Linked DNA regions of Homo sapiens: regions 1, 2 and 3 are each linked to region 4. The links are contacts of gene promoters, found by promoter capture Hi-C in blood cells and fetal thymus (Javierre and others, 2016). All regions are on one chromosome and are shown on one strand. The core of a region is centred on a gene start or on the middle of the fragment in contact, and the rest is flanking DNA. Distances in the headings are between cores, read along the strand shown. Region 1 holds the start of RAB21 (RAB21, member RAS oncogene family). Region 2 holds the start of TMEM19 (transmembrane protein 19). Region 3 overlaps RAB3IP (RAB3A interacting protein). Region 4 holds the start of ZDHHC17 (zDHHC palmitoyltransferase 17).

What was found. The method cuts DNA at HindIII sites, captures the fragments that hold promoters and counts their contacts. A CHiCAGO score of 5 or more calls a contact.
Region 1: the fragment with the promoter of RAB21 here is called in contact with the fragment with the promoter of ZDHHC17 in region 4 in 5 of 17 cell types (non-activated CD4 T cells, activated CD4 T cells, naive CD8 T cells and 2 more); the score reaches 11.2 in non-activated CD4 T cells.
Region 2: a contact is called between the fragment with the promoter of TMEM19 here and the fragment with the promoter of ZDHHC17 in region 4, in 2 of 17 cell types (total B cells and non-activated CD4 T cells). The highest score is 7.1, in total B cells.
Region 3: a fragment that was not itself captured here is called in contact with the fragment with the promoter of ZDHHC17 in region 4 in 1 of 17 cell types (total CD4 T cells); the score reaches 5.4 in total CD4 T cells.

Annotation. Positions count from the first base shown.
Region 1 is chr12:71,750,598-71,756,273 of GRCh38, reverse strand. RAB21 (RAB21, member RAS oncogene family) reads right to left here and starts at 1,411. Exons shown (of 7, transcript NM_014999.4): 1 at 986-1,411. The coding sequence starts at 1,144. RefSeq lists enhancers at 520-709, 1,350-1,639 and a silencer at 1,090-1,369. The HindIII fragment of the contact is 5,965 bases long and covers 1-3,142 here.
Region 2 is chr12:71,684,452-71,690,757 of GRCh38, reverse strand. TMEM19 (transmembrane protein 19) reads right to left here and starts at 4,676. Exons shown (of 6, transcript NM_018279.4): 1 at 3,948-4,676; 2 at 1,054-1,167. The coding sequence starts at 4,077. LOC124902965 (a long non-coding RNA gene) reads left to right here and starts at 4,694. Exons shown (of 2, transcript XR_007063367.1): 1 at 4,694-4,836. RefSeq lists an enhancer at 2,711-2,780 and silencers at 4,129-4,344, 4,335-4,404. The HindIII fragment of the contact is 11,589 bases long and covers 1-6,306 here.
Region 3 is chr12:69,741,153-69,746,788 of GRCh38, reverse strand. The region is part of intron 1 of RAB3IP (RAB3A interacting protein); the gene reads right to left. Among named protein-coding and RNA genes, the nearest start is that of RAB3IP, 5.1 kb to the right of the region's middle. The HindIII fragment of the contact is 1,122 bases long and covers 2,841-3,962 here.
Region 4 is chr12:76,760,453-76,766,439 of GRCh38, reverse strand. ZDHHC17 (zDHHC palmitoyltransferase 17) reads right to left here and starts at 2,325. Exons shown (of 17, transcript NM_015336.4): 1 at 2,111-2,325. The coding sequence starts at 2,203. RefSeq lists enhancers at 1,978-2,127, 1,319-2,161, 2,137-2,431, 2,728-2,827 and a silencer at 2,178-2,587. The HindIII fragment of the contact is 3,524 bases long and covers 136-3,659 here.

The DNA.
Region 1 (5,676 bases), core at 162-2,661, 5.0 Mb after region 4:
AACAGAAGAAACAGGCACAGACAGGTTAAGTAACTTACCCAGTATGACACAGCTAGTTAAATGGATGGAGGTGAGACATGAACCTGGACAATCAGGCTCAAAAGTCCACTAGACTTTACTGCCTTTGACCAAATTGGTAAGTCAAATTAGTAGGATAAATTTCTCCTAATAACATCAAAACTGATTTCTCTGGGAGAGGTGGGGTGAGTACAACTCCCTCAAAGGCCTGGCTTCACTCTCAATCAATGATAACATTTTAACACCTTTCCAATGTACCTGTGGAAGAAAGCCGACCTTTTATTTTACAGGTAAAGAAACTGAGTAACAGCAGCGGCTTTTAGTCTGGGGACCAATTGTTGGCCAGTATTCACTTGATGTTTCAGCGTGGGTCAATCGACCTCGCAGAATATGAGTGACCCGCAAGTCAGACCCACGCAGGCTGCAATGAAACTGCGTAACACGCCTAGGCAAGCGGTCATTTCAAAAAACCTCCAGAGATGGCTCTTTTGCCATTCCTGTTACTCAGGACAAAATGGAACTTGCATAAACACTTAGTCATCAGTAAGCGCTGAAGTTACAAATCACCTAATTCGCAAAATCAAATACGCAGCTAAGTTCCTAATTCTGAAAGAAAGAAAAGGAGCTAACATTTGGAGACTGCAACACTGACACCTGGGACCCAGGAACTGCAGTAAATGGGAAAAAACAGCCCACGGACGGAGACCACAACGTGCGCAGCCACCACGGGGAACACTGGGGACTTTTCAGGGCCCTTCCACTTCCCTCCCAACAGCCTGTCCTCGCGTCTACAGGCTGCCCCGACCTGGTGATTCCCCAGGGCGAATTCGGAAAGGTAAACCGAAGGCGGAGATGACAGGCCTGAGATTTGCCAGCCTACATCCAGGGGACCAGGGCGGCAAAGTTTCCCCAGCCCCGGAGGGGTAGGGGCCCTGAGGCGCCCCCTCCCGCTCCCCGAGGTCCGCACCTGCAGAGTGGTGATGTGCTTGTCGTTAAACTTGTTCTCGCAGTAGCGCAGCACCAGCGACGTCTTCCCCACGCAGCCTTCCCCCAGCAGCACCACCTTGAACGAGTAGGCTCGGCCCGCCGCCGCCGCCCCGCCGCCGCCGCCGCCGGCCGCAGCCATCCCGTCGCTTCCCGGCCGCCCGAGCCCGAGTGTCGCGCCGCCCTCCCGACAGCCGCGGCAGCGCCTTCACAGCCACGGCCGGCTCAGCCCCCACCGCCCCGGCCCCGCCGACCCGGGCGCTGTCCCCACGCCCTCCTCGGGCGAGGCCTGGAAGGGCTGAGGGAAAGTCCGAGAATGAAGGGCCCCAGCCCACCACGTCAGGCACCGGAGGAAAAGCGAAGAACGATCCCTCTCTGCCTCCCTCTAATGGCGTCTCCTTCCTCCTACGTCACACCTCGGGTCACGTGAGCGCCGGTGCCGGGGCGGCCCCTGCGACTAGCCCCAGAAGAACGTGCCTGGACGTGGGCGGGGCTTCTGGGGCATCTCCCGGGGTGGAGCTGGATGTGAGTCGAGCGCCTACTGGCAATCTAGGGCAGAGCCCCGCCGCTTGCGAGCCACCTCTGCTTTTCAGTTGGTGGGAGCCAGCGGGAATAAGGAACCAGGAATTTGAGGCGAGCCCAGCTCTGGTGAAATGAAGGGCAGAACTTCATCGTTTTTGCATGTTCACAATGCTAATGATCTGTCACACCAGAGGTCACTGTAAACCATATCTGCCAAGGTGCCCTTGAATCTCTCTCTGTGGGATCCCGAATCATAGCGCTTCCAAGTTCCTCTGACCGCCTGGTCAACTACTCCATCATCTTTCAAGTCTCAGCTTAAACCGCGTCCCTGACCACCCAATCCTTCCCCCATCCTTCCATTCCCCCACCTCACAAAATTAGGTATTTCTTACCACCAGTATACCTCCTTTACTAGGGCTTTACACACTCCATGGATATTATTAATACTTTGCTAAGTGTTTATCGACTCTCATTAGACTATAGGTTTGTTGAGGGCAAGGTCTGTATAAGAGCTGCCCACCTTTGAATTCCTAACCCCAAGTGCTCTTCAGTTTTTCTGACTTTCATGAAGCCTCTGACGTTCCATGGTACTCCACCTTGAGGTGGCTTGTTCGATGATTGCTTGTTTTTTCTCATCTGCATCCCCATTCTTTTTTGTTTGTTTGTATTGTTAGTTTTGAGATGGAGTATCGCTCTGTCGCCCAGACTGGAGTGCAGTGGCGTGATCTCAGCTCACTGCAGTCTCTGCCTCCTGGTTCAAGTGATTCTCCTGCCTCAGCCTCCCGAGAAGCTGGGACCATAGGCGCCCACCACCGCGCCCCGCTACTTTTTGTATTTTTAGTGGAGACAGGGTTTCACCATGTTGGCCAGGCTGGTCTTGAACTCTGACCTCAAGTGATCCACCTGCCTCGGCCTCCCAAAGTGCTGGGATTATAGGTGTGAGCCACCACGCCCGGCCTGCCTCCAAGAAACCATACTCCTCCAAGAAATCATACTAATATTTCTGAAAATTTACTGGAAACCTGGTGTCAGGTAAACATTTTTTTAAAAATCAAACTTCTTTCACACTTCAAACCAGGTTAAAAAAAAAAAAAGAGGCCGGGCGTGGTGGCTCATGCCTGTAATCCCAGCACTTTGGGAGGCCGAGGCGGGCGGATCACAAGGTCAGGAGATCGAGACCATCCTGGCCAACATGGTGAAACCCCATCTCTACTAAAATACAAAAAATTAGCTGGGCATGGTGGCACAAGCCTATAATCCCAGCTACTCGGGAGACTGAGGCAGGGGAAGCGCTTGAACCCGGGAGGCAGAGGTGGCAGTGAGCCGAGATCGCGCCACTGCACTCTAGCCTGGCGACAGAGGAAGACTCCGTCTCAAAAAAAAAAAAAAAAAAAAAGAGAGTCGGTTAATTCATTCAACAAATATTTAAATGTGCCCACCATATGCCAGGCACTGTGATCAACAAGATAAAATGTCTCTGTCCTCACAGAGCTTACATTTTATCAGGGAAGACAGACATACTCAATTGTACAATAAATGCTTTCATCTTGATGAAACAGTTCAGAGTATCTTGCAAGCATATATGAGAACCCAACTGATTTAGCATGCTAGAGAAGCTTTCCCTGGAGAAAGTTATCTTTGGGTAAGAGTAACCTAGTCAGGAAGGACAGGAGAGCTCTGCAAACAGAGATAACAGCATGTTCAATGGCTTTAGATAGGAAGGAGCATCTAAAGTTGAGCAACTGTAAATGTGACTAGAATTTAGGGAGGAAAAAAAAACTCCAGAAGAGACCATGAGGAAGTTGGGGATCAATACTGAAAGGGTCTTTAAGCAAATGAAGGATTTTCGTAAGATGACTGACATAATCAGATTTGACCACTCTGGCTATCATTTGAAAAGTGAATTGGAGAAGGATAATATTTTAGATTTGTTTAGAACCAACCATTAAAGAGACTCTATGTTTTATAAAATATCCTCATGATTGTATCTAAAGATATATTTTCCAACTCTCTCCTCCACATTCCTCCCCTTAGGGTCTTTGCACATTTATAGACACTTCCAGAACTAGAAAAGAACTTCATTTTGAGAGAGCACCTTCCATTGTTCTTTCTGAGCACTTCCTCATATTGGATTGAAATCTGCCTCTCTTCACCTGCAATTAATTATTTCTGTTTATATTTATACATTATATATCGAATCCCTATTCCCTATAAACATATGAAGAAGGCTGTGTGTTCTTCCTTTAAGCCTTCTCCTTTCTTCTTTTTGATACAGCCAATCCTTTCAACAACTTTTCAAATTGTGTGCATTTGATTATTTAACAGCTTGGTCATCTTAGAAACTAAATGCATTACTTTGCATTTATCACTAAATCAAAGCAATTAAAAATTTTTTTATTGTAAAACAAAATAATTTTTTTGTGAGACAGGATCTCACTCTGCTGCCCAGGCTGGAGTACAGTGCCACAATCACAGCTCACTGCAACCTCAACCTCCTGGGCTCCAGCAATCCTCCCACCTCAGCCTCCCGAGTAGCTGGGACTGCAGGTGTGTGCCACCACACCTGGTTAATTTTTTAATTTTTTTTGTAGAGACGATATCTTGCGTGTCTTGCTGTGTTGCCCAGGCTGGTCTTGAACTCCTGGGCTCAAGCAATCCTCCAGCCTCAGCTTCCCAAAGTGCTGGGATTACAGGTATAAGCCACCACACTCAGCCAAAATAATTTTCGAAGTTAAAATAAGTTTTTACATTTAGCTTACGTTGACATTTAAGAAGGTAGTGCAAGTTTTCATGGGTTACAATAAGTAGGTTGGCATACTTTTGAGCACAGAGTGGGTAAATATAGATGTAAATTGTAATAGGCTGATAACGGCCCCTAAAGATATCAGCTCCTAGATTCCGGAGCCTGTAGATGTTACCTTATTTGGGAAACAGGTCTTTTTGATTTAAGTTAAGGATCTTGAGATGGGGAGATTATCTGGGTGGGCCCTAACTGCAATCACAAGTATCCTTATAAGAGAGAGGCAGAAAGAGATGCTTCACACCCAGAAGAGGAGAAGGCAGTGTGACCATAGAGGCAGATTATGGAGCAATGTAGCCATAAGCCAAGGAATGCTTACAGCCACCAGAGCTGGAAAAGACAAGAAGCCCCTAGAGCCTCTGGAGGGGGTTCAGCCCTGCAGATATGCTGATTTTAGCCTAGTGAAACTAATTTTGATTCCTGACCTCCAGAACTAAAAGAGAATAAATGTGTGTTGTATTAAGCTACCAAGTTTGTGATCATTTGTTACAGCAGCCATAAGAAACGTACTTAAGTATGTTGTGAGAAAACAAGTAGCCCATAACAGTCAAAGCATTGAAAGAGATTCAGGCCAATTCTGGGATAGATTCTACGCCCTTAAGAATTTAGGTCAGTCTTAGAGTCAACTATGATTGGTCTGTATAAACTTAACACGGACTGCCACAAAAAAAAAAAAACACTAGAGCTCCAGTTCCTCCGTAGAGAAGAGCTGCAAAAATATGGGGACACTTCAGTGAGTGCATAACTCAAAACATATTCCTGAATGGTGAGGACTGAGGCATGATAGGGTGCAAATTCATGTAGCTCCTCTTCCCCCAGTAAAAAACAGGAATAATTATACAGGTGAAATCAAGTTAACAATGAACATGCAGCACAATATCAAATGGGGAAAAATTGTTGCACAGAGGTAAAATGCAGCTTTAATTCTGTAGGCGGGAAAGAACAACCTCACCCATTTTGTGGTGGTTATAAAGTTGAGTTTATGGACTACTTATAATGTATATGAGACCTAGTTTTTGGAATGACTCTTCCTTTCTCCCCCTGTTCTTGCACTACGTTTGTGAATTAAGACCAATGTCCTGGGCCGGGCATGGTAGCTCATACTTGTAATCTTAGCACTTTGGGAGGCTGAGGCAGGAGGATCGCTTGAAGCCAGGAGTTCAAGACCATCCTGGGCAACATAGCAAGATCCTGTCTCTACAATATTTTTTGTTTTGAGACAGAGTCTCACTCTGTTGCCCAGGCTGGAGTGCAGTGGCACAATCTTGGCTCACTGCAGCCTCGACCTCCTGTGCTCAAGTGATCCTCCCCCCTCATCCTCCTGAGTAGCTAGTACTACAGGTACACACCAA
Region 2 (6,306 bases), core at 3,427-5,926, 5.1 Mb after region 4:
CTCATTGCTAGCTTCTTCAGATACCAGTGCAAAATGACCTCCGTAGAGAAAAGCACCTGACACCATTTACAGAAGAATGCACTACATCTTCCAACATACACACTTTACAATTATCTTTTCATTTTTCTCATAAACTTCATCATTACCTGAACAGTTTTATATATTTTATTTATTATCTATCTGCCCTAAAGAATATAAGTTCCATGAGAACTGACACCACGTTCTTTTTGTTTACAGATCTATCCCAAGTTTTTAGAACAGTAGTACATACCAGTAAGTGTTCAATAAAAATTTGCTAAAAGAGGGGTCAGGCATGGTGGCTCATACCTGTAATCCCAGCACTTTGGGAGGCCCAGGCAGGTGATCACTTGAGACCAGGAGCTCGAGACCGGCCTGGTCAACATGGCGAAACCCTGTCTCTAATAAAAATACCAGAAAAAATTAGCTGGGCATGGTGGCACACACCTGTAGTCTCTACTCAGAGGCTGAGGCACAAGAATCGCTTGAATCCAGGAGGAGGAGGTTGCAGTGAGCCGATCATGCCACTGCACTCCAGCCTGGGCAACAGAGCAAGACTGTCTCGGGAAAAAAAAAATTGCTAAAAGAATGAATGCATATCCTGTTCTCAACTCAGTTTTGGAAAATTAATCCAGAACACTAAGTTTGGACTGCTCTGTTTTGAGATTACTAACAGCAATTTCCAAAAGTTATTCTCTCCAAATGCTCTATTTTACATATAGGAGGAGTGCTCCAGTGTTTCTGCTGGTAGAAGACTAATCAAACTAAAGGAGCAGAATAGTCAAGGTTCATCTATCCTATTAATCTACTTTGTATCAATCACAGAGTTTAATTTGTATGTTACACTAAAAGTGTACGTTAGTTTCTGAAATTTTGACAATAGGAATGCTGAGCAAGATGTAACTTTATCATTGTCTAAAATATATAACTGTGATTTGTAGTCAGTCTCATATATTCAGAATTTAGAAAACATAAATTTAAATTATATAAGCAAGCACTTAGTAGTTACTGTAAACATTCAAAATAAAAACATACCTCCTAGAGCCCCACTGTGATCTAGACTTTTCTTTTTAAGGCCATTAGAGACGATCAGAACAGGAACAACAACAGAAAACAGCCAACGCCACGGAGAAATAGGTCGTAAGTTACCTGAAAAATTATAAAGGTGGAGCACAAATTGTGTGAAGTTTGCACAGGTTAGTTTTGGCAGTAAACTTCCGTTACTGCTTTTAGACTAAAATACTGTCATAAGTACAAACACCAAGATGAAGTCACCAAAGAAATATATAGTCATGCATCACTTAAAGATAGGGATATGTTCTGAGAAATGCATCCTTAGGTGATTTCATGGTTATGCAAACGTCAGACTGTACTTACACACACCTAGATGGTAGAGCCTACTACACACTTAAGCTATATGCTATAGCCTATTGGTCCTAGGCTACAAACCTGTAAAGCATGTTACTGTACTGAATACTACAGGCAATTATAACGTATTTGTGTATCTAAACATAGAAAAAGTAGAGTAAAAATATGGTATTATAATCTTATGGGAACATGTTGTATGTGTGGTCTGTCATTGACGAAAACATTGTTAGGCAGAGCATGACTGTATTTATGTTGAGACATGCATGCATATTTTCGGAGAAACAGTCTTACTGGAGAATGGCCAAATAGGTTATGTCCAAGTTTTGAAAACCTTTTACTGCTATTTATGATAATAATGGATATCTAGATATTTAAAATGAACCTCTGGTTCATTTTTTTTAAAGGGGGCACGTATTAAATTTCAAGGACTACCTAGAACGAACTCTTTTTGTAACAGGATCTTACTCCTCTCTGCCTGTCAGAGGACAGACACCTCATTCAATGGTTAGAAATTGATTATTCCAGAGGCTGCATCCAGCTCACAGATGTTTGGCTAGCAGAGTGTTTTCAAATAATTTTAGTCAATATTTAAAGATTAGGAGATATCATATAAAAATCCAGATTCTTGGCTTCTGTTTTAAAATTGGGAAGTTCTGGCCAACATGGCAGAATTGACTTAAGGTAAAGAGAGGTGCCCTCCTTTAAACAGGCCGTGGCTTTCCCATTTAAAGTTCCCACCCCTCCTGATAGGCTCCTAAACGCCAAGGCAAAGTGATTTCCTTATGGTAAAGAAAACTGTGAACCACTGCTTGTATCTATGTTTCTATCAAAAATGAGAAAATGGGCCGGGCGCAGTGGCTCATGCCTGTAATCCCAGCACTTTGGGAGGCCAAGGCAGGAGGATCCTGAGGTCAGGAGTTCGAGACCCAGCCTGGCCAACATGATGAAACCCTGTCTCTACTACAAATACAAAAATTAGCCAGGCATGGTGGCAGGCACCTGTAATCCCAGCTACTTGGGAGGCTGAGGCAGGAGAAACCAGAAGGCAGAGGTTGCAGTGAGCTGAGATCGTGCCACTGTACTCCAGCCTGGGCAAAAAGAGCGAAACTCCGTCTCAGAAAAATAAAGGGGAAATGAAAGACAAAGAGGGCCCAAGCATTCAACAAAAGATGAGAAATATCCTATTTCTGGAAATGAAAACTATTACCACAGGTCTAATACACAAAAACGTACACAGATTCATTTGCATTAGGTGACTGGCCCCAGAGGGATATTTCAGTTTACAAATCCTGATTTATTCCATTTAGTTCAAGTCATAGTAAATACTGTCACTAACAAGAATCTTTTCTTACACCCCTCCCCTAAAACTCTGATGCCCCACTGTGAATCATTATGAACGAACTGCACTGAGAGCTTCTGTAGCCTGGAGAACCCTTTCCAACTATTCACATGTCTCTTTGCAAAAAGCCTACAGTCTGAAATGGCAATCCCTTACGATACAAGCATTCTCATTCTCCTTTTCATTTTTCCTTTGTTGCAAACTGACCAGTATTTTGTTTTCATAGGAGAAGGAAGTTTGTGTAAATGGAGGCTTATGCTCTAAAGCACCTTTAAAACTTTAAAGATCTGAGTCCAGAGTACCTTATATTTAAGCAATGTAGCTTTAGGCTTTAAAAGGAGTCTATTCTTTTGAAGCAACCAAATGGCAGATAAGTCCTTCAGCTCTCCAAATGTAAATAGTATACCGTTTTTAATTCTTATTATTTTTACAGAACATGTGAAACTGATAAACTACATTACTACTTTTTTTTTTTTGAGACGGATTCTCGCTCTGTGGCCCAGGCTGGAGTGCAGTGGCTCAATCTTGGTTCACTGCAACCTCCGCCTCCAGGGTTCAAGTGATTCTCCTGCCTCCATCTCCCAAGTAGCTGGGATTACAGCTTTTTTCTAGTTTTAGTAGAGCTGGGGTTTCACCGTGTTGGCCAGGCTGGTCTTGAACTCCCGACCTCAGGTTATTTGCCCGCCTCGGCCTCCCAAAGTGCTGGGATAACAGGCGTGAGCCACCGCGCCTGGCCCATTACTAATATTCTTATTCAAAATTAAAAGCATCACTGTAATTGCTTTACAAAGCTATATTCGCCTCACTTATCTTTTACCAAGACAGATGGAATAGTTACATAAAATATAAAGACATTTTGAAATAGGTGTAACTAGTCCAGAAGTGGTGGCCTGTATTGCCAGCACTTTGGGAGACACAGGTGGGAGGATCACTTGAGCCTAGGGGTTTGAGACCAGCCTAGCAACACAGAGGGACCCCTATCTTATACAAAATAAAAATTAAAAAAAAAAAGAAATAGGTATAACTCGAATTATCACAACAAGCATTTATTAAAGGCATTGTTTATACTATCATGTTAGTAAGTTAAATCAGGCTATGGAAGTTAAGTAAACACAACCATTCATAACCATTCAGAGGATATGAGTTTTGGATTTCACAATGGTATGGTTTTAATTTCCTCTGACTAGATTACAGAGAAACAACTTAGAACACTCAGACTTACCATAATAGGTGCTTGCAGTCATTGATATAATCCAGAAAGCTAACGAAATGCAAATGATCAGGCTCAGTATAACTATATTAGTTATCATCTTTATATATCTTTTGCATATATTGTCGTTAAGATCTGTCATGGAAAATAAGGATATGAGCTCCTGCGGGAAAGAATATTTAGCGTTTCGGAGAGAAAGTCATTTACGATGTGAGCAAGACACTTGTTCAGAGGCAAACATAAATCCCAACATATTCCACCGACCAAACAAGCATAAAAATCACAAAAATTCAAACTCCTTCCGGAAACTCCTACTGGCGGAGAGCTCCAATTCATATGGGCGTGGTCAACGCCTCACCGCAAAAGCAGAGCGCAACCCGGCGGACGGTGAGGGCCGGTCGCCGGCTGCCGGCCGCTTCAGCGCCTCACGCCGGAGCCCACGGGGAAAAGAGAAAGCCGAGGCAGCCAATCCGCGGTCCCGGCGCTGGCGAGTTCCACCCACCTCCCGTCGCAACCTTCTCACCCGCGGGCCGGGTAGGCCAGCGGCTGCAAAGGGGCAGCTAGGGCACCCGAACTTGGGCAAGTCTGGGAAGCACGCCCGACGCGGCTGAACGCAGTCACGTCCCGACAGCTGCGCAAGCCGCCCTAGGGTCAGGTCCAGCCGGCCAAGGCCGAGACCCCAGGAGCAAAGCCCGCGCCTCCCGGCGCCCCCGCCTCTAGCGCCTCGCCCGCTGTGGGCATGCGCCGCAGCCGCTTAGGGGGATGTCGCCTAGCTCACGTGGGCAGGCACTGCTGGCATCCTGGCCGGCTGCGTTTGCACTGCTTCTCCAAAACCACATTATAGGTACTAAACAACATTGTTTAGTACCTATAATGTGCTAGACTCCTGGCTGCTAGCGAGGTAAAGTTAAACATAGTTTCTATTACTGAGCTCTCGTAATTATTGTCATAACACCACTTAGATTGTGGAAATATCTGTCCTCACACCCCTTATATTAAAGGTGTGTGCATTTAGAAAGCAAAACGTCTTGTTAGCATTAAAAATCTGAATCGTGGCTGATTTCTTTTCTTTTCTTTTTTTTTTTTTCGAGACAGTGTCTCTCTCTGCCGCCCAGGCTGGAGTGCAGTGGCACGATCTCTGCTCACTGCAACCACCGCCTCCCAGGTTCTAAGCGATTCTCCTGCTCCAGCCTCCGGAGTAGCTGGGATTACAGGCGCCACAACCACGCCCGGCTAATTTTTATATTTTTAGTAGAGACGGGGTTTTGCCATGTTGGCCCGGCTGGTCTCGAACTCTTGACCTCAGGGGATCCACCCACCTCGGCCTCCCAAAGTGCTGGGTTTAATGGCGTGAGCTACAGCGCCCGGCCTGATTTCATGTTTTATGTGAAATTAACTTGTTTGCCTGGGTTAACAGTAATTAACTGATAATTACATAATATTTATCAATTTTTTCAGTTAATTGCTGACAGTGTAAGAAGAGGAGCCAAATCCATTTCAGACACAGTATGCAATTGTGTTTTAAGCCCCAAGAGTAGTTACTTTAAAAAAGCTCACATTATTTTAAATTTCAAAATACATGCCAAGACAGCTTGTCATTTTCTTTGGTAAGACATCTAATTAAGTAGTTAACTAAGAATCAAATCTGTGAAGTAGGACTAAATAGTAGTGGGCTTCCTGTACTAGATAATATACATATATGGTCTTTATGCTGAAATGTATTATGTGCCTACTTTATTTTTGTCTTAGTCTGTTCTGCATAGGTAAATGTTTGGATTATTTCACCAAGCTGACTGGCCAGTATCAATGTTACCAGACTACTGGGTAAAATTATTAATAATGAAAGCTAATGTTTTGTGGTTTGCACAGTCGCATTGTTTTTGTCTCTGCTTAGACAAAATTATAAACTGGTCTTTTTTTTTTTTTTCTTTTTTTTGCCTTGCTTCACCACAGTCACAGAGTGACCCTCTCTGATTAGTTGGTGTTCGATAGGAAAATCATAGCCTAGTTGTGAATGTCAAGCTATCTCCCAACACTGTGGTGTAGCTGTGTCAGGTCAGTCCCTGGATGTCAGGGATGATTTTCTCATGACTATTAGATCTGGCTAAAAAATGCATATTAAATAGTAGTGTCAGTGAACTGACCCTTTAGATGAATATTTTCCCTTCTATTTTTTTCAGTGACCAATTATAGATGTTTTTCTCCATAAAAGTTATTCTAGCTTAAGACCAAAATAATTTAGAGGAGTTAATATAATTAAAATACAGTAGTTCTTATATGCAATAGGCAGTTTCAGTTACCAAGGGTTAAACATGATCTTGAGGCAGGAGAATAGGGTCTCCTATTGAGGCAGGGAACCTAAGGCCGATTC
Region 3 (5,636 bases), core at 2,152-4,651, 7.0 Mb after region 4:
GACTGCTACTTCAATAGCATATAATGAATTGAACTGTTATAAATTCCATGAATTAGTTACAAATTCCATCACTTCTTTAAAAACCTTCAACATTTATTATACATATTAAATACATTTATTTCATACATATATGTGATAAATTATATTTATTCTTGTTGGAATGGAAGGATGATTGCCAGCTTCAACACCTCCGGGCAAATCCTGATACTAAGTGCTAAGAATACAGATACAAATGGACCAAAGAGATGGCACACAGCCTCTACGAGCCACGGCATGATTATTCTGAGGGTTGTGGGGAGGGAAGAGGGAAGAGGAGAATGTCTCAAAGAGAAGTAAAATATAAGTCAGATTTTCAGTGCTGAATACAAGTCCAGTAGATGGGCAAGGGGAATAGGATAGGACAGTCAGGGAATAAGGGTCTGGCACTAACAAAACTAACAAAGGAGACAGTAACAGAAAAGCAGGCTGGAGAGGCAGACTGTGACAGACCATTAAAAGCCTTCTTTAAAAGAGAAAATGTTGCTTAAAGTTTATCCTGAAGAGATGGTGAGATCTACATTTTAGAAAGTATAGATGTATTGTAATGTAGTCATTTAAAAATGACTCCCAAGGCAATGAGAACTTCACTGGAGACTAGAGGCTGGTTAAACGATTACTGTCTGATCTAATGCCAAGGTCATGCACTGGGAATGAGGGGATGGAGGCATATATACGTATGGAAAACATTCAGAACAGCTTCATTTATATTTATTCACAAACACACAATTATTCCAGTTAATCTTCAGAGCATTCATTTGAAATGGTTCTTATCCCTACTTTACAGATATATAAAAAAAAGAGGCTGAGAGAGATTAATTTTGTCAAATACACAAAAAGTAACAGAGCTAGTATTCAAACTCTGGTGTGTCTGACTCTAACACCTAACTCCACTACATCTGAGATACACTTAGAAGCTGAAATGGATAGGGAGTAGGGAGATGGGAATAAAGGTTAAAGCACAGCAAAGGATCTCTAAGAAGTGAACAATCCTGGGTGCAGTAAACCACCATGGCACGTGTATACCTATGTAACAAACCTGCATGTTCTGCACATGGTATCCCAGAACTTAAAGTTTAAAAAAAAAGAAGTGAACAATCCAAACAGAATAATAATGTTTAATCTCTGAACCCTTCTCTTACTTTCACAAAGACAAAACTGAAGTTTCTCTAAAGCACTGCTATTGAAATGAGCATTTGCTATTGCTTTGTGTTCTATTATTTTCCCCTATATTATTTTTGTTATCATTTCCTCCTCTGTTTTGTTACTATGCCAGAATTTAATACTTATTCAGCTCCTTACAGGACTTGGAAAAAAAAAAACAGCACATAAATCAAAATAAACAGAAACTTGAATTTACTATAGTACCCATATTCCTGTGTATTTTTTTAAAAAGTGTAGATATTTTATACCAAGGAATTAGTGTTAATTTTTGAAAATTTGTAATAATAAAAGCAGGAAATGTAGATTAAAATGAAAAAATAAATAAAGAACAAAGTTTGTAAAAGTACTGCAGTTAACTGCTCTTATCTTTGGGAAATACTGAAATACCTACAGGTGAAATTACACAGGACTTGCAATTTGTTTCAAAATAATATAGAAGTGGGAGAAGTGGATGGATGAGGACTGATCACTGTTGATAGTTACTGGGCTACATGATGGAAACTTTTAGGTTCATTATACTATTGTGTCTACTTACCTTATTTGAAACTCTCCATAATTTATAGTGCTCTCAAAATAAAAAGGAAAGTTCAAAATTTATTCAAATACTGTATAATAAAGGAGGAAAAAACAAAACAAGTATATATATAAAATCATTTTTTCATTAGCTTTCATAATAATTTTAAAGTTGGCTTCCCAAACTAGCATTTTAGTTATGACAAAAAAAATCACATTTATCTTTTAAGAAGCATTCTATGTTTATAAATGCAAATGTAATTAATAGCCCAAGGGCAAAATTACTCAAATGGTCAATCAGGCTACACAATTTTCCCATTTTTATTATAATAGATCACAAATGAATTCCCACTAATTCCACAATACTTTTTTTTTTTTTTTTTTGAGATGCAGTCTCGCTCTGTCGCCCAGGCTGGAGTGCAGTGGCACAATCTCGGCTCACTGCAACATCTGTCTCCTGAATAGCTGGGATTACAGGCGCCTGCCACCACACCCAGCTAATTTTTTGTATTTTTAGTAGAGATGGGGTTTTGCCATGTTGACCAGGCTTGTCTCGAACTCCTGACCTCAAGTAACTGTCTGCCTCAACCTCCCAAGTGCTGGGACTACAGGTGTGAGCCACCATGCCCGGCCTAATTCCACAACACTTCAATGTACAACCTGACATGTGTAGAGATGTTAGTTATTGCAGTGTGTTATGTTGACAGTTTTCAGAAAATGTTCTGAACTTATGAGCTAATATTATATTTAATTACAAATAATTATTTGTAATAATACAATGAGCTAATATTTAATTACAAATATTTATTTGTAATTAAATATTTATTTAAATTAACAGAACACCGCATGTTCTCACTCATAAGTGGGAGATGAACAATGAGAACACACGGACACAGGGAGGGGAATATCACACACCAGGGCCTGTGGGGGAGTGGCGGGCTAGGGGAGGGATAGCATTAGGAGAAATACCTAAGGTAGATGATGGGTTGACCGGTGCAGCAAACCACCATGGCACGTGTATACCTATGTAACAAACCTGCACATTCTGCACATGTATCCCAGAACTTAAAAGTATAATTTTTTAAAAAAATCATTTTCCAAATTTCTTTTTCTCAATAATGGAAGCTTCATTTTACATATTCTCTTAAGAATATATGCCAACTAAACATTCAACAGGTGCTGAAATACGCACTGACTAAATAAATAAACAAGAGTCTTTAGAGAAGGAATGAATAGCAAAGCGGTAAAGAGTGGAGACAGTTATTCAGGCTACATTTTTGCTGAAAAAGATAGAAATGAAACAGTAAATACTTTGCGAGAGTATCAAAACTGGAGAAATTGAAGTTTGAGAAAACCTGAGCATTTTAACAGACTAACTTCAGAAAACCTTCCTTCTAGTTCAGATTCTGTCACTGACAAGCTGTGTGAACTGACGCAAGTCATTTAATCTCTCTAAGGTTCAGTTTTGACATCTATAATGGTAGTGATATTATCTCCCCTGCCTACATTTGAGAAAATCAAATGGCATATCAATGTAAAAATGTATACATTGTAAAGCACAACATAAATGTATGATTTTATAAAGATCTAAGAAAGAAAAAAATGTAATGGGGGAAATAGCAAAAGCATACTGAGGGGTTTGTCTTACAAATCAGAAGGTATCTTTATTTATCTTAGGTAAAAGGAAAGAAAGGGAAAACTAGTCTTTATGAGGCATGTAGTTCAAATATGATTCTTTTCCCCACAGGGAATTGATACAAATTTGCTTATTGTTTTTTCAAACTTATTTTGGTTTTTCTTTTATACTTTATCCTTATCTGACAACCAGATGCTCCCAAACAAATATTCAATACTATTACTTTTATCTGGGCATATCAAATTACAATTCACTTATTTAAGTGGTTCTAAGCTATCATCTATATGCTCCTTTATGCTCATAGGGCATTCTCACATTCTTGAATAGTTTCTTCATACTAAGCTGTCAATTCATATACTTATTTGTGTATGTATCCATACCCCTCAGAGGAATTTCATCAACTGCCATTATGATTATATTTACAATCCTACTGTTAACGACAAGCATCAAATCTTTCATGAACTTGAACTATTTGAATAATTTTCATTCTTTTTCCTCTAAGTAATATCAGTTTACGGCTATAGTTATCTAATTTCGTGTTGCCCTATATTCTAAGATAAATCAGATTACTTTTTCCACTTTTCTCTAACCATGACTATGTACGATGTAAGCTTATAAAACTACCTCATTTAGTGGTAAGTTGAAAAGGAAAGCAGAAGGGAAAATAGAGATAGCAAGTTAATGCTCCCAGTTGTATAAATATCTTCCTCTTCCTTCCTTTGTCCCTTCATTTCTCAATGTTCATTTCAATTTCTACTGCTAGAGCAGCTTCAAAACATCCTAACATTCTTCAACTGATCATCCATCACCAAACACAGCACAGTACTTACCTGGCCCGATGTTAAAGCTATAAAATGAGGTAAGCCCTACTCTCGAAGCACTTGTAGACTAGAGGAAGAGACCACCTTGCCAATAAACATGTTTCTAGGGCCCTAGAAACAATTACAAATACAACACAAATATCAAAGTTCATAAATACCAAAAAAGAGGTACTCAGTATTATAAAAGCATAAAATTTTTAAAAAGAGTACCATCTGGTACAACTAAGGATAGTAGCATAAAAAAGGAGAAACAAGCTAGAAAGCAGTTTACAAAAGCTCAGATATTTTGTTTTTAGGATATCAAATGCGTAGTAACCAATTTACTATCCTTTGATGAACTGCATCTTAATCAGAATTATATCGGAAAAAAGTTTAGTGTGAAAAAGCGTACTCCCTTGGAATATCTTCAAAGCTTTCCCTCATTACCTCAATGCACAAATATCTCTACCCACTATCCATCTGTCCTTCCTCTCCACTACTCAACTATCCTAGCACTTTGTCTTAGTTGACATTCATTAAAATATGTAAAGTGCGTTCTACATTTTGAAGAACTTATAAAAGATATGGGAATGATTATAAGGCCCTACCTTCCATATTCCTTAAGAACAGTTTCCTTTAACCCCTACTGTGACTTGCAGAGTAGATGCTCAATGAGTATTTGATTTAAAAAAATCTCTGGTGACACAATGAGAATTACATATTACATTAACATTACGTATCTCATAAAAGCTAAATTACAAAGTTCTTCAGCATTATAAGCTACACATAAAGAAGTGATAATGTAGTGATTATGAGCAAACAATTCTTTAGCATTACCACTTATACATGAAGAAATGACAGAGTGTAGTGGTTAAGAGCACAGACATGGAAGACAAACTGTCTGACATCTAATCTAGACCTGTCACTTAATTAACTATGTGACGTTGAGCAAACTACATAAGGTCTCAGGGTCTCAATTTTCTCAACTACAAAATAGGGATAAAGTATTATCTCCTCGCTCACTCTGAGAGTAAATGAGTATAAAGCTTACACCAGGACTTCGCTTGATAAGCACTAGACTTAAAAGTAACTGTAGTAGCAATGCTGGTATCACCGTCTTCAGAAAACTTGGATATTTTTAAACCAGAAATACAAATGGTAACACTTGTCATCTGTGTGCCTCCTTATAGTTACAAAGCTCTTTAATAGAAGGTGCAGACCAGGAATGTAAGAAACAAAAGCACTACGTTCCATTTTGGGCAGTCGGATACAGTTTTTAATACCGGCTCTGTCACTGGCCAGCTGTACGACCACCTACAACTAAGTAACCATAGACAAATTATCGCAACTTTCTAAGCCTCCATTTCCTGACTTGTAAAATTTGATAAACCACCTATATCCCGGGAATGTCCAGAGGACTGAGGAGTCAAGGTATCGAAAACAAGCACACACAGTGCCTTGCACACAATCAAGCTCACACTGGTTCC
Region 4 (5,987 bases), core at 1,076-3,575:
CTAGAACTCAGAGACGTATTCATAGCTTGCCCAAGAACACACTGCTAGGAGGCAGCAGAACTACCCCAGGTCTGCACCAGCTGCACACACTAACCACAGAAAATGCAGAAAGACCTCAGCCATGTAGTACAAGCTTAAGGTCCATCCAAAGTATTAAAATAATCAGACCTTGTGCTTCTTGGGTAAAAAGGAACGGTATATATTATGTATGCCAATTCCCACTATCAATGATGAGGAGGTTGACTTTCTAGTAATATCCTATCTATCGAATGGCAACCTGAAGATCGGTAGCTAAATTTCAAGCCTATACTGGCCATTCTACTACACCAAATAATCTGGATTTGTTGCCAGTTAAAATTATTCTTAAAGTAGCAAACAACAGTACTATATTACAAAGCAAAGGTTTATGAAGAACAGTATGCTAAAATACGTAAGATAGGCCTGGCATGGTGGCTCATGCCTGTAATCCCAGCACTTTAAGTAGCTAAGGTGAGAGGACCACTTGAGTTCAAGAGTTCAAGACCAGCCTAGACAACATAGGGAGACCTCTTCTTCTACAAATAATAAAAAAATCAGCCGGGTATGGTGGCGCGAGCCTGTGGTCACAGCTACTCAGGAGGCTGAGGGGAGAGGATCACTTGAGCCCTGGAGGTAGAGGCTGCAGTGAGCTGTCATCGTGTCAGTGCACTCCTGCCTGGGGGACAGGGAGAAACCCCGTCTCAAAAAAATAAACTGGATAAACACTTAAGTGTTTGAAATACTTTCACGAATACTTTCACAGGAACAGATGAATAGAAATCACTTAGCAACATTTTCAAGGCAACATCTGAAAACTACTTTGTCTATTTCCTGACGTATGTTAGGGCCTAAGTGAACCAAAAGAGATGTCTACAATGCCAGTTCTGAAAATGTTACCACTTTGGTCAGACAAGTGTTTAGTCTTACTGTATAGTTCTGTTTATCAGAAACCCAGAGTAGCCTTTTCTACTGAGACTGGCACAGGTATATATTCCGAAGGAACTGTCCCATGTGTTTTTGATAAACCAAAGTGACGAATGAGAGGGTGGTTGAGTGTTAACATGCAACATAAAAGGATGGTTGTCATTATTCACTTTTTAACAAAAACTAGTGGCATGGTACAAACCCAAATCCAGAAAAAAACAGAATCACTCCATTGCAAAGTAACCAGGTAGAGACTTCCATGTTTGTTCATCCTACAACACGACTGTCATCTTTTAACCTCATGAAAACTACCCGAGTTCTTCAGCAAACTGTGCCGCTGCCGCATACAGACATCACTGTGGATCACTAAAAATCAGAATGCATCAAGAATTGCTTCCAAGCCTTAACTAGCACTAGCTCAGCTACAAACTCGGAGGTAAACAAGCACAGACTGACTGACTGTGGAGCGGGGCACTGTTTACTTACATGGGAAGACACTCATGTTGTGATGGGAAACGTGTTGCACTGTCCACCCCTAGCTCCTAGAAAAACGGTACTTTGACAAGCTAATGTGAGTGTAAGTCTATTCCCAAAAGTTTTTACCTCTCTTCTTAATCGCTTAAGGACAAATGCTCAAAAAAGGACGCCCGACACAAGGTGCCCGAGGTGCTACCCATGGCATTACCTGGAAGGACATCACTATGCCCATGAAACTGTCCCCTCACAGTGGACTAAAAGGAAGCAATAGATACCGTCATTCACCCTGGCGAAGGAAAAAGAAATCAAAACCAGACGCGCTTCCACCTGGCCCCAAGAGGCTTGGAGCAAGACTAGGGTCTAAGCTGCGGTTCAAAAACCACACCAGGCCCCTCCGCCTCTGCTCTCAAACGCAGCGCGGCGACACAGCAGAACCATCAACACCTCCACCTCTGTCCTCCAGGCACAGCCAGGGACTGCGTCCCAGAGCCCGCCCCGGTCGGGCCCGCCCCGCTATCTCCTCCCCCGTTATCCGCTCGCAGCCGCGCTCAGGCCTGGATTCGCCTCCCCACCCTCCCCAACTTCGGCACGTCCCACTACCCCACACACGTCGGCCGCCGCCCTCGGCGAGTCCGGGGAAGAAAGGCTGGAGGGCCGCAGGGCAAGGAATCCACTCAGCACGGTTCCTCACCTCTGGGTGGAGAAGGGGCACACAGCCCGCTTCGGTATCGTACTCATCCGGGCCGTCCGCCATCTTGGTGTTAAATCCCTCCTCCCGCTGCATGCTGGGAGAAAGCGTTTCACCCTCCCGGGGCTCGGGCGAGGCGGAGGGCGAGCGCGGGGCGAGCGCGAGCCCCGCCGGAGGCGACGCGGGCCTCCTCCTCCTTCTTCTCCTGCCCCCGTGACGCCCCCTCTGTCCCCTCCCCCCTCGGAGGGCGCGGGTTTCTCCGCGCGTGCGCGGAAGCGCGGCCCGGCCCCAGACTGGATCGCGCTCTGCTGCACTGCGCTGGGGACGGCGGAGGGCTCTGGGCGTGGGCCCCGCGGCTCGGGGGCGGGTCCCGGCTGGAGGTAGATGTGAAGCTCTGGCTGCCCGGGGGAGGCGGCCGGGCGGTTGAGACAGTCGCTTGGGAAACCTAGCAGCTGCTCAGGAGCGAGAACAGAGCTCCGGAGCCGCACGCAGCACAAGTCTGGAGCCCCAGGCAGCCGAGGAGCCCACGCCCACGCGCTCCCACTTCCGCTCCGGGACCCCCGGGACCCCTCTTCAGGAACTCGGGCAGAGTCGTCAGCCAGCTCCAGGGAGGTTTGGGCCCGTCAGGCTTGAGTCGAGACCTGCATCATTCCTGAAGACAAAAGCAGCTTCCCTTTCCTCCACACTTGAAAAGGTCACCCGCAACCTGTCCCTCCGGGGGACGCCCGGAAAAACATGGATACAACTCGGGACTTCCTACTAGAGAACCCTTTTTTTTTTTTTTTTTTTTTTTTTTTTTTTTTTAATGAGACAGAGTTTTGCTCTTGCCGCCCAGGCGGGAGTGCAATGGCGCGATCTCAGCTCACTGCAACCTCTGCCTCCCGGTTCAAGCGATTCTCCTGCCTCAGCCTCCCGAGTAGCTGGAATTACAGGTGCACGCCACCACGCCCGGCTAATTTTTGTATTTTTAGTAGAGACGGGTTTTCACCATGTTGGCCAGGCTAGTCTCGAACTCCTGACCTTAAGCGATCCGCCCGCCTCGGCCTCCCAAAGTGCTGGGATTACAGGCTTGAGTCACCACACCCTGCCGAGAACTCTTTTTAAAATGATCCCAACCTGCTCTCAATCGTCTTGAATTAGTACCACACAAAAAATTTACGAGCTCAAAGCCCACACACCGCCATCTGCAACATTTCGATATAATCCAGGAATTCAGAACTGAAGCCACTTAAACTGAATTCGCTTAAATGCAAGGCAGATAAAATGACTAAAGCCATTTTTTAAAGGATTTTAGGGCGGTATGGGGGAGGTGCTCCCTGTAAATGGGCTGATGGGACAGTTTTAGATAGCATTTGTCTTTCCTTTTAGCTGTTAAAAATTGTAAGTCTAAACAGCTGAGAATTTAGCAGAGATCATGAAAGTTGACCTATTAGAGATCCTGGTACTTACTAATCTGTCTCCTGTTAGGCCAGAAACCACCAGGAAAAAGCCTGTACTCCGATAACGTCAGGCCAATTTGTAAATCAGGAGGGAGGGCACTCCAAAGGAAGCTTGGAATGCCACTGGAAAAGGAAAGAGGAAGCCTCCTTTGTAAGATTAGTTTCCCGCCAAAGGAGTCTGAGGAGGGTCTAAGGAGAGCCAGAATCAGTTCTGCATGGGACGCCGTTTCCGTGGCGGCATGAAGAAAAGCTGGGATTTACGAGGGATTGGATGCTGTCTTGAGGATACAGCAATTTAGTAATTAGGTACCTCCAGTAATAAAGTAGCAACACTAGTAAGAGCAGCAGTTACTCAAAGAGGGGTGAATATGGCGTGTCATAGCTACTGCACGGCTGTGGGAGAAAGAAGTTTCTCAGTTAACTTTGCTGCTGGCTTTTTCTGTATCTGTCCTCCCAGCACAACTACTTTTTCTCATTTCAGTCCGAGCTGATTTTCATTCTGTTCGTCCTGGCCCAAACTAGGAGTCATCTTTTACAGCTAGATAGTCTCAGGGTCGGCCCTTGGAGCATCGAATTGTTTTCAGTCATATGTTAACATGGACATAAGTCATTTTCACTCAAAAATCTCAATTTTTTTTTTTTTTTTGAGACTGAGTTTCACTCATGCCCAGGCTGGAGTGCAATGGCTCGATCTCGGCTCACTGCAACCACCACCTCCCAGGTTCAAGCGATTCTCCTGCCTCAGCCTCCCAAGTAGCTGGGATTACAGACATGCGCCACCATGCCCGGCTAATTTTGTATTTTTAGTAGAGACAGGGTTTCTCCATGTTGGTCAGGATGGTCTGGAACTGCCGGCCTCAGGTGATCCACCCGCGTCTGCCTCCTAAATTGCTAGGATTACAGGCGTGAGCCACCGCACCCAGCCAAAAATCTCAATTTTTTTTTTTTTTTTTTTTTTGAGACGGAGTCTTTCTTGCTCTGCGGCCCAGGCTGGAGTGCAGTGGCGAGATCTCAGGTCACTGCAACCTCTGCCTCCCAGATTCAAGCGATTCTCCTGCCTCAGCCTCCTGAGTAGCTGGGATTAAGGGCGCGCCACCATGCCCTGCTAATTTTTGTATTTTTAGTAGGGATGGGGTTTCACCATGTTGGTCAGGCTGGTCTCGAACTCCTGACCTCGTGATCCACCCACCTCGGCCTCCCAAAATCTTGGGATTACAGGCGTGAGCCACTGCGCCCGGCCAAAAATCTCAATTTTGAATCTTGCCCTTCCTTACCTTTATGTCTTGCATTGACTAGAAATAGAAGATTAGAGTAAATAAAGGACACCGACTGAAAAAGTTAAGTGGCATAAATATTAATAAAGCATTGAATGAAGTGAGAGTGTAAAGAAACTAGGCATGGAAAACTGGAGAAAATGTTTCAGGTACCCATGTATTAGGAATATTGGTACAGGTATATGATGTGGAGTATTCATAAAAGAAATGTTTAGCCTTCCCTGCGAAAATCAGTAAATCAGAGTTCACTTTAAAATCTAGAGTTCTAGTTCATCTGGCAAACAAGCCATCTTGACCTTCTTGCTCAGTCTCTACCAGGTCTATGGCCTGCTTTACTCGTTCTCATTACCTGCCTGGCTCTGTGGATATTTTTACTCCTGAGAATTCCACAATTCAAATATAAGGAAAATACTAAAAGCAGCCGAAAAGTTGGAACAACATAACCAGGGTCCATGTCTGTCTTGCTTACTGCTGGAGCACTAAAATAAATAGTTATTAAATGAAGAACTGAAGAAAGAGATCAAGAGCAGAAGCAGGCATGCTTAGGAAAACATGTTGAAGTTGAATCTTGAAGCAAACCCTTTAGATATGATCAGAGTCCATCTTGATAACTGTAGAGTTCTTATCTATAGCTCAAATTGAGAAAATATATTCAGGGGACTAAGGAGACAGCTAAGAAAGTACACTGATTGGATAGACTGGCAAAAGAATGGCATAGAATTATGGAGGAATGCAGAATAGTGGCTAAAAAAGAATAAAATTCAAAGAGAAAAATAGACCTTGTTAGAGAATAATTGTGAAATGGATTTAGAAGCAAACAGATTGGAAGGCATGGGGCATTGTTGTATAAATATAGTTTCATATGTAACTTCAGACACTACTGGAGCTAAAGACAGCATAGAGATTATCCAGATTTAGTCATTTCACAAAAAAGGAAATGATGGGGAATTTAAGAAACTCTCTTAAAGTTACAAAACTAGGTGGTAGCAGAATCATCTGGAAGCCTCCTGAATTTTCCCCATCTACTACTCTTTGCCTCTACCACGTTTCTTCTGTTGTTATTATCCTCAATGAATTATTACTTGGTCCATTTAATTTTTTTTATTGTGGGCCGGGCACGGTGGCTCACGCCTGTAATCCCAGCACTTTGGGAGGCCGAGGCGGGTG